4 separate regions of the Homo sapiens genome follow, and regions 2, 3 and 4 are each linked to region 1. The links are contacts of gene promoters, found by promoter capture Hi-C in blood cells and fetal thymus (Javierre and others, 2016). All regions are on one chromosome and are shown on one strand. The core of a region is centred on a gene start or on the middle of the fragment in contact, and the rest is flanking DNA. Distances in the headings are between cores, read along the strand shown. Region 1 holds the start of PTPRK (protein tyrosine phosphatase receptor type K). Region 2 overlaps PTPRK (protein tyrosine phosphatase receptor type K). Region 3 overlaps PTPRK (protein tyrosine phosphatase receptor type K). Region 4 has its middle 53 kb from the start of THEMIS.

Region 1 (3,203 bases), core at 577-3,076:
ATATACAGGGCTTTTCCTCTGCGTGCTGCCATTTCATAATCTCTGCCTGAATGTACGACACATGCTGCCACCTGAATCTGTTGTTTAACTCCCTTTACAGAGTTCTAAATGGGGCGGGGGTAGGAGAGCAATGGAAGGGAAATAAACGATTACTCCAGAAAACAACAATTTGAGTTTATTTCCAGGAAACAGGGCCTCCACAACAACGTGAGAAACTGTCAGGTACAAAGTAAGTTATTTGCGTCCTGCGGCTTCAGCCAGGAGCGTGGCTGTCGCTTTTCCCGTCTTCTCCATCACCCTCTGGCCACCACTGCGTCTCCATCTGCACCGCGAACCCCAGCAGCAGATGCGCTCGCCAGCCAAGCGAAGCTGGGTAGGTTGGCCAGAAAAGTTGTCAGGACTGGCGGGAGGTAGACAAGTGCTCGGGAGCCCGCTCCCCAGCGTCCACCTGGTGAAACTTCAGAGCCCCCAGAGGAGAGAACGAAAGAAGCAACCAACCTACACGAAGGATAACAAAACTGGAGGGGAACAGAGGGCGGGACCGGGAGAGCCAGGGTTCACGGACTTCTCTGAGCGGCTTGACCGAGAACCCCCAGGGCTACAGCGAGACGCTCCACTTGTCTCCTTTTGGGTTCTCCGGCAGAAGGCAGACATTTACAGTCCGCTTCCAGCCCCAGGCCGGATCCGGGGAGCGCGGGGCCAGAGCCCCAGGCCGGATCCGGGGAGCGCGGGGCCAGCCTGGCGGTGGTTTTGCCCGAGGAGCGGGCTCCCACGCGCGAGTCAGGCTTCCTCCACCAGGCGCCCAGACCTCGATGCCCATGAACGCTCAGAGTGGGTCCTTAGAACCGCATTTCAACACATCTTACAGGGCTCCGCCAACACACACACAGAACATGCTCCAAGCAGTGCCCGAGCGCACAGGGCAAGCCCGGGAGCAACCCAGAGCTGGGGGAGGAGAAAAGGGGACTCCGGGAGGGACGGGGAAGTAGTTAGACAATAGTCAGGGGAGGTTATTCCCGGGACAAAAAGCACCTGGCAAAGCGCGCCGAGGTCAGTCCCTTCGAATCTCCACATTTCTGACAATGGCTTCCCAGGGAATTTGTTTAAACACCCAAGTGGCAGACAGCAACAAACCCGCACCACAAGCAACAGAGTGCCGTCACGGGAGTCGTAACTACTTTTTCTTTCTCTCTTCCCCACTAGCCCGGCGCAGGCCACGCGAGACGCCGAAGCCAGCAGGTCCCCACACTCTCCGGCTAGACCGTGCCAGCCTGAGCCCCGAGCAAGCTTCGGAGAGGAACAATGGGTGCCCCGCGTCCCACCTGGCACGAACTCTGGGGACAGCCCTCCCTCTACCCTGTGTTCCCCACCCCCGGACAGAGAGAGCTCCCCACGATCCTTGTCCCCAGCCCTAGCGGGGACCTGGCTCACCCCTCGTGAGCCCAGGACTCCAGGCGTTCGTCGGGGACGCCCCCCGGCCACTCACCTGCGGAGAACTGGCCTTGGGCCGATCCCAGGAGAGGCCAAGGAGAGAGGAGCAAGAGCGCCACAAAAGCAGGCAGCGCCGCCGCCGCAGTCGTATCCATGCCGAGTTTGGGAGAAGTTTCAAGCAGCTTTGCAAAGAGCTGCCGGGGGGATCGCCGCGAAATCCACGACGGAGGAGCGGGCCGGGCCTCGCGGGGTGAGGACGGTGAGAGGACAGCCGCCCGCCCGCCCTTTTTCCTTCTTCGCGGTCGCCAAACTACCTCAGGGGCGAAAGCGTCGCCAGCGTCGCCGGCCGGCCGCGGCGGCAGCTCTCCATGCTCGGCGGAGGCTGCTCCTGTTAGTCAAGAGTTACTTTGCTCGGGGAGGGACGGGGGCGGAGCCGGGGGTGACGTCGCCCCGCGGGCTCCGGGCGCTTCTGAGGAATGCGGGCTCGGGCGCGGCGCCGCCACCGCCTCCTGCCGGAGAGACGCGCGCCAGCCCCGGCCGCGCGCCCCGCGCCGCCTTTGTTCGCAGCCTGGGCCCCGCCGCCAGCCGCTGCTCGGAGGGAGCGAGCGAGAAAGGGGAGCCGGCGCAGCTCGCTGCCCTGTTCCAGAACTCAGAATTTGAGAGGCGAGAGTTCGGTAAGCCGTGCGACCAGACGACCGAGGACGCGCGCAGAGAAACCCCCGCCGTCCGAGGAGAGGCGTCCTGGGGTTCCGTCCCAAGGTGGAGGTCCCCCCGAGCGGTTGCTGATTGAAAGGGGAGTGTGGAAGCGCCCTGAGGAAACACCCGCCTGCCTTGAAAACTCCCCGTTCCTTATTCTTGTAATAAGGAATAAGACACCCCACCCCCATCGAAAACTTGTCCCTTATTCATAGAATAAATAAAACTTGAACCAGAATAAACGATCAGTAACTTTCCAGCGTGAACAGCTGGCGTGTCTCCTTTCTGGTTTATTTGTCATTGGCCAAGTATTTGGATTTACTCTGCTTCACTGACTTTGCTTGTTGCTCTGAAACCCTCCGGCCCCTTTCCAGTTCTCACCTAAGAACTGCATCAGGGCTTATTATCCCTTCCTTGCACCTAGGTCTGGTGTGTGTGTGGTTTTGTTTTTTTTAATATCTAGTAGGTAGTTAAGACATAAGTATTTAACAAAAGGACTTTTACACTGACCATGAAAACAGCTTCTTCGGAATGATTCATCTGGCAGAAAATAATGCTATATTATGACAGTAAAATATTTCACAGTTAACTACTTCAGCAGCTTGAAGTGGTTTCGCCATATGCCACCCTGCCTTACTTCTGTGGTAAGACTGTATGGTGCATACTTTATTCATTTTTGTAAAATGTCACAAAAAATAGGTATGGTCACAATTGAATAACATAATAACTTTGATTCAGAATTTTTATGTGTTATGTACAATTGCTAAAACAATAGTCTGTTGATTGACATCTCTCAGTTTCTCAGACATCTTAGCCTTTGTAAATCAAGACAATGTGAAATTCATTTTAATATAACATTCACATAATTTACCAAGCCACATATTCTTTTAATCAAATATATGCTATTAATGACCAGACTTATGACAGAGCCTGTGGAAACAAAAATGTAATAAATATACACACAAATATATACATATATAAATACATATTATACACACATACATATCAGGCAGAAAAGACTTTTAAAAATTCTATGAGAATAGTAGCCTGCTCATTAGCACACTGACTAGCTCAAC
Region 2 (3,414 bases), core at 705-3,204, 530 kb before region 1:
TGTGACCTAATTTTTGAGAATCAGCATTTGTCAGAAAATCCGTGTCCTAGACTAAAAGTTATATTTTTAAGTTTATACATAATATTTTCCATAGCTTTTCTAATAGCAAGTATAATGGCTATGTCCCTCTGTGTTTTCTAATATTGTATATTTTCATTGTACCTCATTTAGAATTAATAGTGGTTTAATTACTTTATTGATCTTTTCAATAAACAAGCTTTTTCTTTTTTCTCATTTGTTTCTTTTTTATATTTAATTTTTCCTTTGTTCTATTCTACTTTTTCTGATTTTCCAATGTTATAATTTTTCACATGATTTCAGAGCACATTTCAAAACAGAAATCACTTATGAGTATAAATTTTTCTTACAGAATAATGAGGTAAATTTTGATGTAAAACTATTGATCTATATAATATAATTTTAGTTTTGAGGAAATCATTCAAGGATTATTCAGAAGAGGATTTGGTGACTTCTAATAGGCTAATTTCTGGGGTCACTGGTCAGCAGTTTGTCATCATTGCTTTCTATTGGATTTTGGCAATATCTCAACTTTTTGTTATGTATTCAGGTTTTCCTTATTACTAAGTTCATCATTGATTTTTACAAGACTTGTATGAACTTAAGAGACTGCATATTCCACATTTCTTTTTTAATAATATGAGCTAGTTATTCATTAAATCAAGCTTAATGGTTCTTTCTGAAATCTCCCATATCAATTGCTTATTTTATTCTACTTGATTTGTCTAAGAAATTTTCATACATATTTTACAGTTACAATAATCATGATTATGTTGTTCTGTATAATGCTATTTCAACTTAATATTTTGCCTAATTTTTTCATGTTGGTAGGATAACTCACAAGTATTTTTATAAAATACTATGCAATTATTTCTCTATTGTTGGGCATTTATGGTTATCTATAAGTTTTTAATACTATAAATGAAGTCATTGTATTTTAAATAAATTCCTTAGGAGAGATTCATGAAAGTTAACTTCTCAAAGGACATAAACATTTTAAAGCTCTGGAGATATACTGTTTTATTGATTTAAAGAAGGTTTGTAGCGATTTAACTATGATCAGTAATGTATAAAAATATGTTTCAACATACTCTAACAATCAATGAGGATTATTCTTTTTTAAAGTTCTTGCTGATTTGGAAGGACAAAATGGTATATAAGTACACTAGGTTAAACATTTTTAATAGGCTTGTTAACAATTGTGTTTCTTCAGAGATTCTAGTTTTTTTTTTTTTCTTCTACTGGTATTAACATTATAAATTAAGGACATTAATAAACAATCGCAAGGTTCTTCTGTCTGTATGTACCTTTGATATTTTTTTGTGCCACAGGTAATTTCACAATTTTGTGTGGTCAAATCTACCAAGCTTTACCACAAAATGTATTTCACTGTTACTATATTTCACTTTAGTCTACTACACCAGCCACCTTACGTTATTCTTTGCAATGTAACACTTGGAGTGATCCTTTTAGAAATAAAATTCAGACCATGTTATCCCTGAGCTCACAAACCCTACAATGGCAGCCTAACTCAATTTTAGTATGAACTAAAATCATCATGGCCTACAAGGCACCACTTATCCAATTTTGTGATTTCTCTGCCTTCATTTTGTATTTCTTTCCCCTTCACTTATGGATATCTGCACATCTTGGCCTGGTGACTGTCTGGCATTCTAACAGCTTTACACATGCCTCTAGGCTTCTGAAATGACTCTCCCCTCTGTCAGAAACATTATTGCCCTGGACATAACCCGTCACTCCCTCACTTATTTCAGGTCTCTACTCATATTACTTTCTCAACAATGAGTTTTTCTTTGATCATCCTTTCAGAATTGTAAACCATTTCTTACCCTGCCTAAATAATATTCCCTACTTCCTTCCCCAACATTATTTTTCTCTATATCACTTGTCATGATGTATGATATATTAGTTGATTTATTTATTTTTATTGCTGTCTTAATTCAATCGGCTCTAAGATCCACACGAGGCGATTTTAACATGTGTCCCAAGGTTTAGAAACATGTCTGGCACATAGTAAACTCTCAAATAAACATTTGTGGAATGAATACATGAATGAATGGATTTTATAGCATCATCAAAACAGAACTTGGCAAAGATTTTAAGAGAAAAAGCAGTTTTGATATCACTTTTTAAAATAGAATTTTAGAGTACTTACCCTTTCCAGGGTGAATGTCCTAACTACATATTCAGCAAGTGGTTCCATTTCTACACACGTTACTTTGAAGTCACCATAAACTTCAGTATCATCAGGCCAATATTTATAGCATTTAACCTAAGTGACAAAAAGAATATATAGACAGACCTGAATATATAATACTAATTAGCCAAGGTGATTTAATTCCAGCAATAACTCCTTGTCACAATTAAAACTCAGTTTAAAAATCTATAAATGAGAAAAAAATCTATTATACAATAAACAGAGTTTATATAGTCTCACAAAAAATATACAAGCCTGATAATGCAGTTAGATTCCAGTACAAAATTAAAGCTTATTTTATTACTCAATGAGAAATCAAATAATTTTTCAGCCAGTCAAGGTCTACTTAGAAGTACTCAACTAAAATGTTGTGCCTATAATTTTTTTTAAACAATTGGATGATATTCTATTTTGAGTGTCTTACATGTTGCTTCTCAACTATGTTCATTTTTATGACAAAAAAATTCTTTTTCTTCCTCTTACCCGGCCAACCTCAACTAAATTTGTAACCATCACAATGCAAGCAGATTGTTCTTGCCAAATCATCCTCCAGAAATCATACACTGTTTCATGAACGGGACCTACAAAGAAATTAATTTGAATATTATGTTATCAAAGGAATTTTGTAGTTAGTAAGAAGTTTAGCTAAGATAAGAAGCAGAGTAAACTAAGTAATTCCAAAAAAGGTCTAACACAAAATGTCACTGAAAATACTTAAATTCAGTTCATATCTAAATTCCCACAATAGGCAAAAACACAGGCATATACAAGTTTTTTTTTTTTTTTTTTCAATTTGCCCTCTACACTTCCCAATTTAGAAGAAACTATCACTAGTTTCTTGGGTATTTATATTTGTCACTAAGTCACTTTAATGCATCTTCAAATATGTGTAAAAAATAGAACTCTTATACCACCATCAACCAGACAGCATATATTACCAATTAAATAAGTGCCCACTATTTATAAATAGTGCATGTTTAGGGATCAATAAAAACATATCCTTACACGTAAGGACATATCCTAATCTTATCATAATATCTCCAAACTGCAAAAGCATGTGCTGGGCTGTTCTCTACCGAATACCATAAAACTGAATATTGTTCACCACTATGGTCGATCTTTCTAACTTTAAAGAGTACACAACTGAACTCAATTACTCCAAAGATATGTGAAAACAC
Region 3 (3,675 bases), core at 809-3,308, 510 kb before region 1:
GGAAAAAGAATTATAAATTCTGACATGAACTAACTTTTTGTAGGCAATCGTGTATTTCCACTTAAAGCAATGACACGTGCTATGGACTGAGTGGTATATGTTTGGAATATCCCTTGTGATACAGTAATAAAATTCATAGAGTTTGAAGTTAAACTAAATCCAGTATCAATCTTGATGAGAATCCTTCTTGTAAATTCCATAATATTCTCCATCTCTTTCTCTTCTTTCTAGCTGCTTCTCCCCTCACTTTCCTACTCTCTCTCATTACTCAAAAGGTATCGTGTAGAATTCAAAGTGAAATGAGTTGTAACATCATTTATTAAAATTTTAATGAAAAACTTACATCTTGGACTAAAGTTATGTTGGTCCATGAAGGTGATGGAAAGAGGATCTTCTGCATGCAGAGTGCTCTGATCAGCATAACTTCGATCCATTGCATTCACCATGTGAGTCATCTCCTGCCGGGTATTCCCCATGGCATCTTTGCGTTTTTTAGCAAGTTTGCTGCCAAGGCAAATACAAAAGGGCATCCTTAGTGTTTGAGGCTTGCAGGAGAGTTAACACCAGCAATAAATAGTCCAGGTGAGCCCGAGGATAATGTTACAAACATGGTTTAGAAACCCCAAGCACTGGTCACAATTTCAGGAATTAAGTTTGACATTCAAACAATTATATTTGCTCCTTGCTATAAAAGTATTTTGTCAGATGCATATTTCAATATTCAAGCTGTCAATCCAAATCTCTCATCATTTCCTGTTCTCTTAAATATCATAAAATATAATTATATTTATTAAAAGCAAAATAAATACCTCCTTACTAGAGTAATTCAATAAATATTCAAGCTAAAGCCAAGTTTTGATACTCCTGGGTAATTAATTCTTTTGATCAACTTTTAGTTCCTTTTAGAAATAACATGACTAACTTTTCAAGTCTGTTTTACTGTAGCCACCAAATTAAAACAGACATTTACCAGATGAGTGAAGTGCCATATTGCTAAGATAAGGTACAGGTTTAACTTTAGTAAATAAATTATGTTTTTGGCTCTAGACTAAAGCTACTTATGGAAATTATAACTAAATTAAAAGTAGCTGGACATACAGAAATACAATATCCCTTTTTAAAAAGATTGGCAAAATAGGTGATAGATAAAGTTTATAGTTTTAGAGTCTGAAAAAACTTTTTTTTTGAAATGTCACCAAAATTGCAAGCATTCTGTTTTGTTTTTGAAAAGGGATACTGCATCCTTAACACACGTAAAGTTGTACATCACCCATTTTCTACTTACAGGTAGTAGGAGTAAGAATAGTAGCTCCTCCTGGCAAGCAAATCACAGACAGTGGAAAAAGAGAAGCAATGGTGAATGAAAAGCGTGACTCTGTCACATTCAATAAAGCAGAAAAATGTGCGTTAAAAAATAAAATAAAATAAAATAAAATTCATGTTTTTTTTGCTTTGCATTTCAATTTGCTCATGCATTGTTAGTTTTTTTTGCCATGCAATTAAACAGACAGATATGCAATATAAAAATAAAATTTAAAATACATAATTTGGAAAAAATAACATGCTGGTATTTCTTATTGCCAAAATATTGAAAAATTAAATGGATTGTGTATTTTCAACATGCAGTTAAGCATAATATCATCCATTATCTAAATATGACAGATGGAACAGCTGTGCATAGAACTTGTGTACTATATAGATTATTTTTCTTTAGATACAAAACATAAAGATCTATTATGTTAATATATCATATATACAGAATAACACCTAAATTTCTACAAACAAGTTATTATATCTTAATGGTACATAGGTATATACATATGTTATGTGAATATACATATATACCATATACTATATATACACAGATACTTCTACAGTAGATGCATGTGAACATGATATCATACACAAACATTTACTGTATTGAAACATAATTTCAAATTTATGTTTGAGTTATTAATGTGTTCATGCTGTGCATGTAAAATATAATACACAACCAATGAAAAAATGGCATACATTTGGAAATAATTGAATAGCGATTAAATTAAAAAATGACATTGCGTTTTGAAAGATGCAATATCCCTTTTCTTAGCCTAAAAACTTACTTTATACATATCCTTAGCTGTAAAACTTTACTCAATTGAATTATACACCATTCTTTTGCAAAACAACCAAAAAGACATGGAACTGTTTTCCGCATAAGAAATATATCTACATGTATTCATCCCAGTGAGGGATAAAATCAAACTTAACAATTTCCCACTAAAATGTAGATAAGAGGCTAAAGTAATTTCCTTTTCCATTATTTTTATTATAAATTTATATATTAAAAGGGAAACATTTTATATTAATAGTTTTAAGCTATACTTGATGATAATATCCAATGCAATGCTGCTATATCTATACTTTTTTATATGTATGATAAACATACTTGTGATTAAAGCATACATGGTACATGTGTGACACGCTACATATGAGTAAAAGTCATTACAAAATTGCTTTGGTAAGTAAGAAATTCAAGTAATGTAGATATAAATACTATATATTAGAAGGTAACATATCTAAATAATGAAACCTGGTCTATCTTTAAAAGTGCAGCTTTTCCTGGGTATAAAGGTGATGGTGAGGAACAGAAGCAAAAGCCCTAGCATACTTTCTATCAAAAGACAATCAAAGCATAATTATGAAAGCTCAAATGTTAAATATTTTAATAGAGAGGCTCATTAACTTAACCATTTAATATATGAACCAGAAAATCAAGTTGTCATATTACACAATTTTAGAGAGCTGTCAGAGCATTTTACCTTCCCCCAAAATCTTGCTTAGTGATGGTTTTAGCATACTTTAGGAGGTTAATTTTTCAATTTTTTCATTATTGCTAAATCAGAGGCCTGGATAGGGAGAGTTATCAAGACAAATGAATGTTTTCAAATAAATAACAAATAAAACTGAATAGTTTAGCCCAATTCTAGCTGAATGAGGATATAATCAGAAGCCACTTTCATGTTTACATCCAATCTGAAGTGACCAGAACATTGTGAAGCAATGTTTAGTTAACTTTACTCTCTAAATTGTTTACTTAAGTCTCCAAATACAAATTTAAACTAAACAGAGACATAAGGTCTGAAGGTTACATTTGGTGATTTTTATTGATCTTTACTGGCAAATTTTTATTGCTAAAATACTTAAAACTTTTGCCTCACATATGATGTATTTTCCAACCACAGAGGGAGACAACAGCAAGAGAAAGCACTATTTGGGGAAAGCACGTATGTAGCTAATTTAACACAAAACACTATAATGCATACCTAATGTTTCTAATGCAGATGTGTCTTCTCCAACATATATATCTCCAGGGGATAATCGTAAAGAGGCAATATATTAAAATAAACTCTGATGGAATCATTAAAACATGTAGTATGAGTCTTATCTATAATGTTAATGCTTTATTTCAAGTATAAAATAACTATAATAGTAAACTAGATAATTTAATGTAATATAAGCAACATCACTTATTATATTTTTCAATAGAATTCACTGATCACAACCACTTCTATACACCAAACTATTTTAGGACTGTACTTTTGCTTATAAATATTTTTTTTAAAAGTCCTTCCAAATTGTAGCATTAACCCAAATACATGATGGGAAGGATTAGAGTGCTATATTAGTTTCCAA
Region 4 (3,387 bases), core at 412-2,911, 570 kb before region 1:
GCAGTGAGCCGAGATAGCACCACTGCACTCTAGCCTGGCAACAGAGCAAGACTCCAACTGAAAAAAAAAAAAAAAAAGACATACCCCACTTTAGGTATGTCGAGGAGGAAGGGACTAAATATAGGAATGTAAGACTTACACAAGACTTTGGAAGGGAGGAAGAGCAAAGCCTGGGAGGAAACTGACATCAGAATTCAGGAGCCCATAAAGTGCAGGAGTCATTTGTGATCTGGGCTGAGCCTCTGTGGTGAATTTGTAAGCTAAGGCCTAAAAGCTGCTGGCAAAACCTCCTATGAGCCATCTGCCAAAGCCCATGCAGTTCTCTTACACGCCGTAGGAGATTACTACCTTCTGCTTCTTTTCTTCCTTCTAAATCTCTTGCAAACCTCTCTCATTACCAGAATCTAATCTGCTGGTAAGCATTTTAGGCAATGTAGTTCGGCAGCTTCTAGAACAAGTTTGACAAACATTTCTATAAAAAGCCAGATAGTCAATATTTTAGGCTTTAGCTATTGTAGTATAGATTGCACCCACACTAACATTTGAGTTTTGGATAATGATTACACATTACAAACTCCTAGTTTTCATTTGATTCTTCCCCAAAACCTTTTTTTTTTCTTTCTTTTTTTTTTTGAGCTGAGGCCTTTCTCTGTTGCCCAGGCTGGAGTGCAGTGGCATGATCTCGGCTCACTGCAACCTCCACCTCCCAGGTTCAAGCAATTCTCCTGTCTCAGCCTCCCGAGTAGCTGGGATTACAAGTGCCTGCAACCATGTCCGGCTAATTTTTTGTGTTTTTAGTAGAGACGGGGTTTCACCATGTTGGCCAGACTGGTCTTGAACTCCTGACCTCAGACAATCCACCCACTTTGGCCTCCCAAAGTACTGGGATTACAGGTATGAGCCACTGCGCCTGGCCCCGCTAAACCATTTTAAAATGTAAAAATTATTAATTTGTGATCAGGACAAACAGGTGGCAGGTTAGATTTGGCCCATAGGCAGTTGTTTGCCAACCCTTTGTCTAGACCCTGCAAAACAAGAAGGGTCTTGTACCTAACTAACAAAACTACAATTGTTTTATCATCTCAATGGTATCATAGATGTGAGTTCAGGAAGAGGAGGTGAAGAGCAGGAGCAGATGCTAGAGGATTCTGAGCCACCACTCCTGAAATATACTTGTGGTTTCTTCACATTTTCAAATTCAGTCTTATATTCATATGTATAAGTTACATTTAATCACGAAAAACGGCTGCACACATCCCACTTCGTAATTCTATGGGTCAGATAGCACTCAGTTCTTAATGGTAGCTCCATACCTATATCGCTGGTGTTCCATACCACCATCATCTGCTTCTTTTCCACCAGGGCCAAGAAACAAACTAAAAGCAGCCTTACCAATGGAGGATAGTAGTTTGAAGAAGAGGAATTAGCCTTACTCTAAAACCTCAGCGGTCTGGTGATGTCATTGTTGCTGGCAACAGATTTTATCCCTTTCTGCCACAAATACTTCAAGTACAATTCACTTTGCTGGGTCACAGGTCTAAGTGATGGGTCAGCTTGCACAGAAGCCTGGACCTGCTGCATAACCCCACCTTGCTCTAAATATCCCTTGGAACAGGTAGCTGTATAGGTTACCTGGTGGTTGGGCCAGAGTAGTATATCCAAATATGGAATTTGTCGCGTCCCAGTTTCAATGAGACATACTGAATGCTAGAGCTCTTTCTTTTGTGGACTGTGCAAAGTGAGACAACTTGTTTCTAATTTGAAAAGGAATATTCTGCCATTTTCACAGCATTGTCACACTAGAAACTTCATATGATCACAAGTCTATGAACTTTCACATGGTTTGTCTCCCTTCCTTGGTCATGTGTTTGTCTTCCTAAGGCATCAGGTTGTTAGTTTCTTCCTGATGACATGGTAAAATTAATATGCTCCAACATGGCATTCTACTGGGTGTCAAGATAATCAAGCTCCCTCTAGACCAGGAAGCAGCTATTCAAAGTACGTGCCTGCAACAGTGAGGTAAGGAGCTTCCACCAGAAAATAAATCAATGCACTACTCCTTCATCAAAAAAGTCTTTCTAAGAAAAAAATTGTCAGCTGAGCCAAACGGTGTGCTTAGTGGTATAGTTCACATTCTGGTGCAAACTTCCTAATTCATTGGGGATAAATAAGAAACATGGACCAGAAACCAGTTCACAGATGACACTTTGAGGATCACTGCTCTAGTCTAGACCTCAACATGACAGAGATCAGATATTGTCTTGATAAAAGACAGCAAAGTTGTACTGCTGACCCTCTGGGCAAAGGTGAGGTGTTACAGGTTATAGTTACTGATGGAAACTAAAAAGAAAGCATTTGCTAGGTCAGTAGGTTCATATTGCATGCCAGAAGCTGATGTGTTTTAGTAAAGGTACCAGCCATTTCTTGCCTCAGATTTCCAGGTTTCAATTTCCCCAGGGCAAAAAGTCTGTCTATGCAACTCATCAAATATATAAGTGACTCAACTCCATATACGATTTGATGAACTGTGTTTTAGGGGAACTTCTGGAACCAATTACAGTATAAGTCAAGAGTTCAGCAGGAAATTGATGGCATACTCAAATAGTTAATTGAGGGATTTTTGTTGTTGTTGTTGTTGTTGAAAAGACTATTTACAGTAGTACCAATAAGGGTTGGTAAAGCACCCAAGAAGTAACAAAGCTATAAGTTATCATCCCTGGGCCTGAATGGAGACAAGAATAAAGCAGTGTTACTGGAACCTGGAGGGCTGAAGTTATGGGGCAAATGGCTCCCTCCCAGGACATTGATAGAGGAATTGCAGCCATTATAAAAAATGTGGACCAGTATGGGGAATGTACCACCTCCCTTTCCTCCCACCAGCTGGTCTTTTGTTGGTGCCTTGCCTTGGCCAAACCAACTCTAAGGCAGAAAGCAAGGGACCCCGGGTGATGCAGATTCAAGAAGTTAGCCTCCCATAACAGAGAGCCAAGTAGAGAAGGGCAGAGACTGATGCTTAAGAGGCAAATAGAGAATAACATTCATTCATACATAAGAGAAAGTTTTGATAAAACAGGTTATATCTCCACAATCAAATATCATACAGTAATTTTTAAAATGAACTAGATTTCCAATGTAAATAAATCTCAAAAACATATTAAGAGAAAAACAGTAAGCAGCAGCAGGGTACCCACAGTCTAACATTTACATAACATTTAAAATCCAGTAAAACCATATTTTATGGATATATAAATATGGAGGAAAAAGATGTTCTTGCAGCTGGGAATGCAGTTCTGTATACATTAGTGTTATGGGTTGAATATATCTGAAAATATCCCCATTCTACCCTCACAACTTGAATAATTTGGCTGGGTGTGTTTTATATTGCTG

Evidence for each region. Contacts are between HindIII fragments. The CHiCAGO score rates a contact against its expected background, and 5 or more counts as called.
Region 2: a fragment that was not itself captured here is called in contact with the fragment with the promoter of PTPRK in region 1 in 1 of 17 cell types (fetal thymus); the score reaches 6.3 in fetal thymus.
Region 3: a fragment that was not itself captured here is called in contact with the fragment with the promoter of PTPRK in region 1 in 1 of 17 cell types (fetal thymus); the score reaches 6.9 in fetal thymus.
Region 4: a contact is called between a fragment that was not itself captured here and the fragment with the promoter of PTPRK in region 1, in 1 of 17 cell types (fetal thymus). The highest score is 7.6, in fetal thymus.

Annotation. Positions count from the first base shown.
Region 1 is chr6:128,518,773-128,521,975 of GRCh38, forward strand. It overlaps PTPRK (protein tyrosine phosphatase receptor type K), which reads right to left and starts at 1,827. Exons shown (of 30, transcript NM_002844.4): 1 at 1,487-1,827. The coding sequence starts at 1,586. RefSeq lists enhancers at 1,001-1,594, 1,595-2,189. The HindIII fragment of the contact is 3,706 bases long and covers 1,286-3,203 here.
Region 2 is chr6:127,988,575-127,991,988 of GRCh38, forward strand. It overlaps PTPRK (protein tyrosine phosphatase receptor type K), which reads right to left. Exons shown (of 30, transcript NM_002844.4): 20 at 2,720-2,817; 21 at 2,195-2,311. Among named protein-coding and RNA genes, the nearest start is that of PTPRK-AS1, 38 kb to the right of the region's middle. The HindIII fragment of the contact is 1,142 bases long and covers 1,384-2,525 here.
Region 3 is chr6:128,004,741-128,008,415 of GRCh38, forward strand. It overlaps PTPRK (protein tyrosine phosphatase receptor type K), which reads right to left. Exons shown (of 30, transcript NM_002844.4): 15 at 344-504. Among named protein-coding and RNA genes, the nearest start is that of PTPRK-AS1, 21 kb to the right of the region's middle. The HindIII fragment of the contact is 8,842 bases long and covers 1-3,675 here.
Region 4 is chr6:127,952,782-127,956,168 of GRCh38, forward strand. No RefSeq gene overlaps it. Among named protein-coding and RNA genes, the nearest start is that of THEMIS, 53 kb to the left of the region's middle. The HindIII fragment of the contact is 7,407 bases long and covers 1-3,387 here.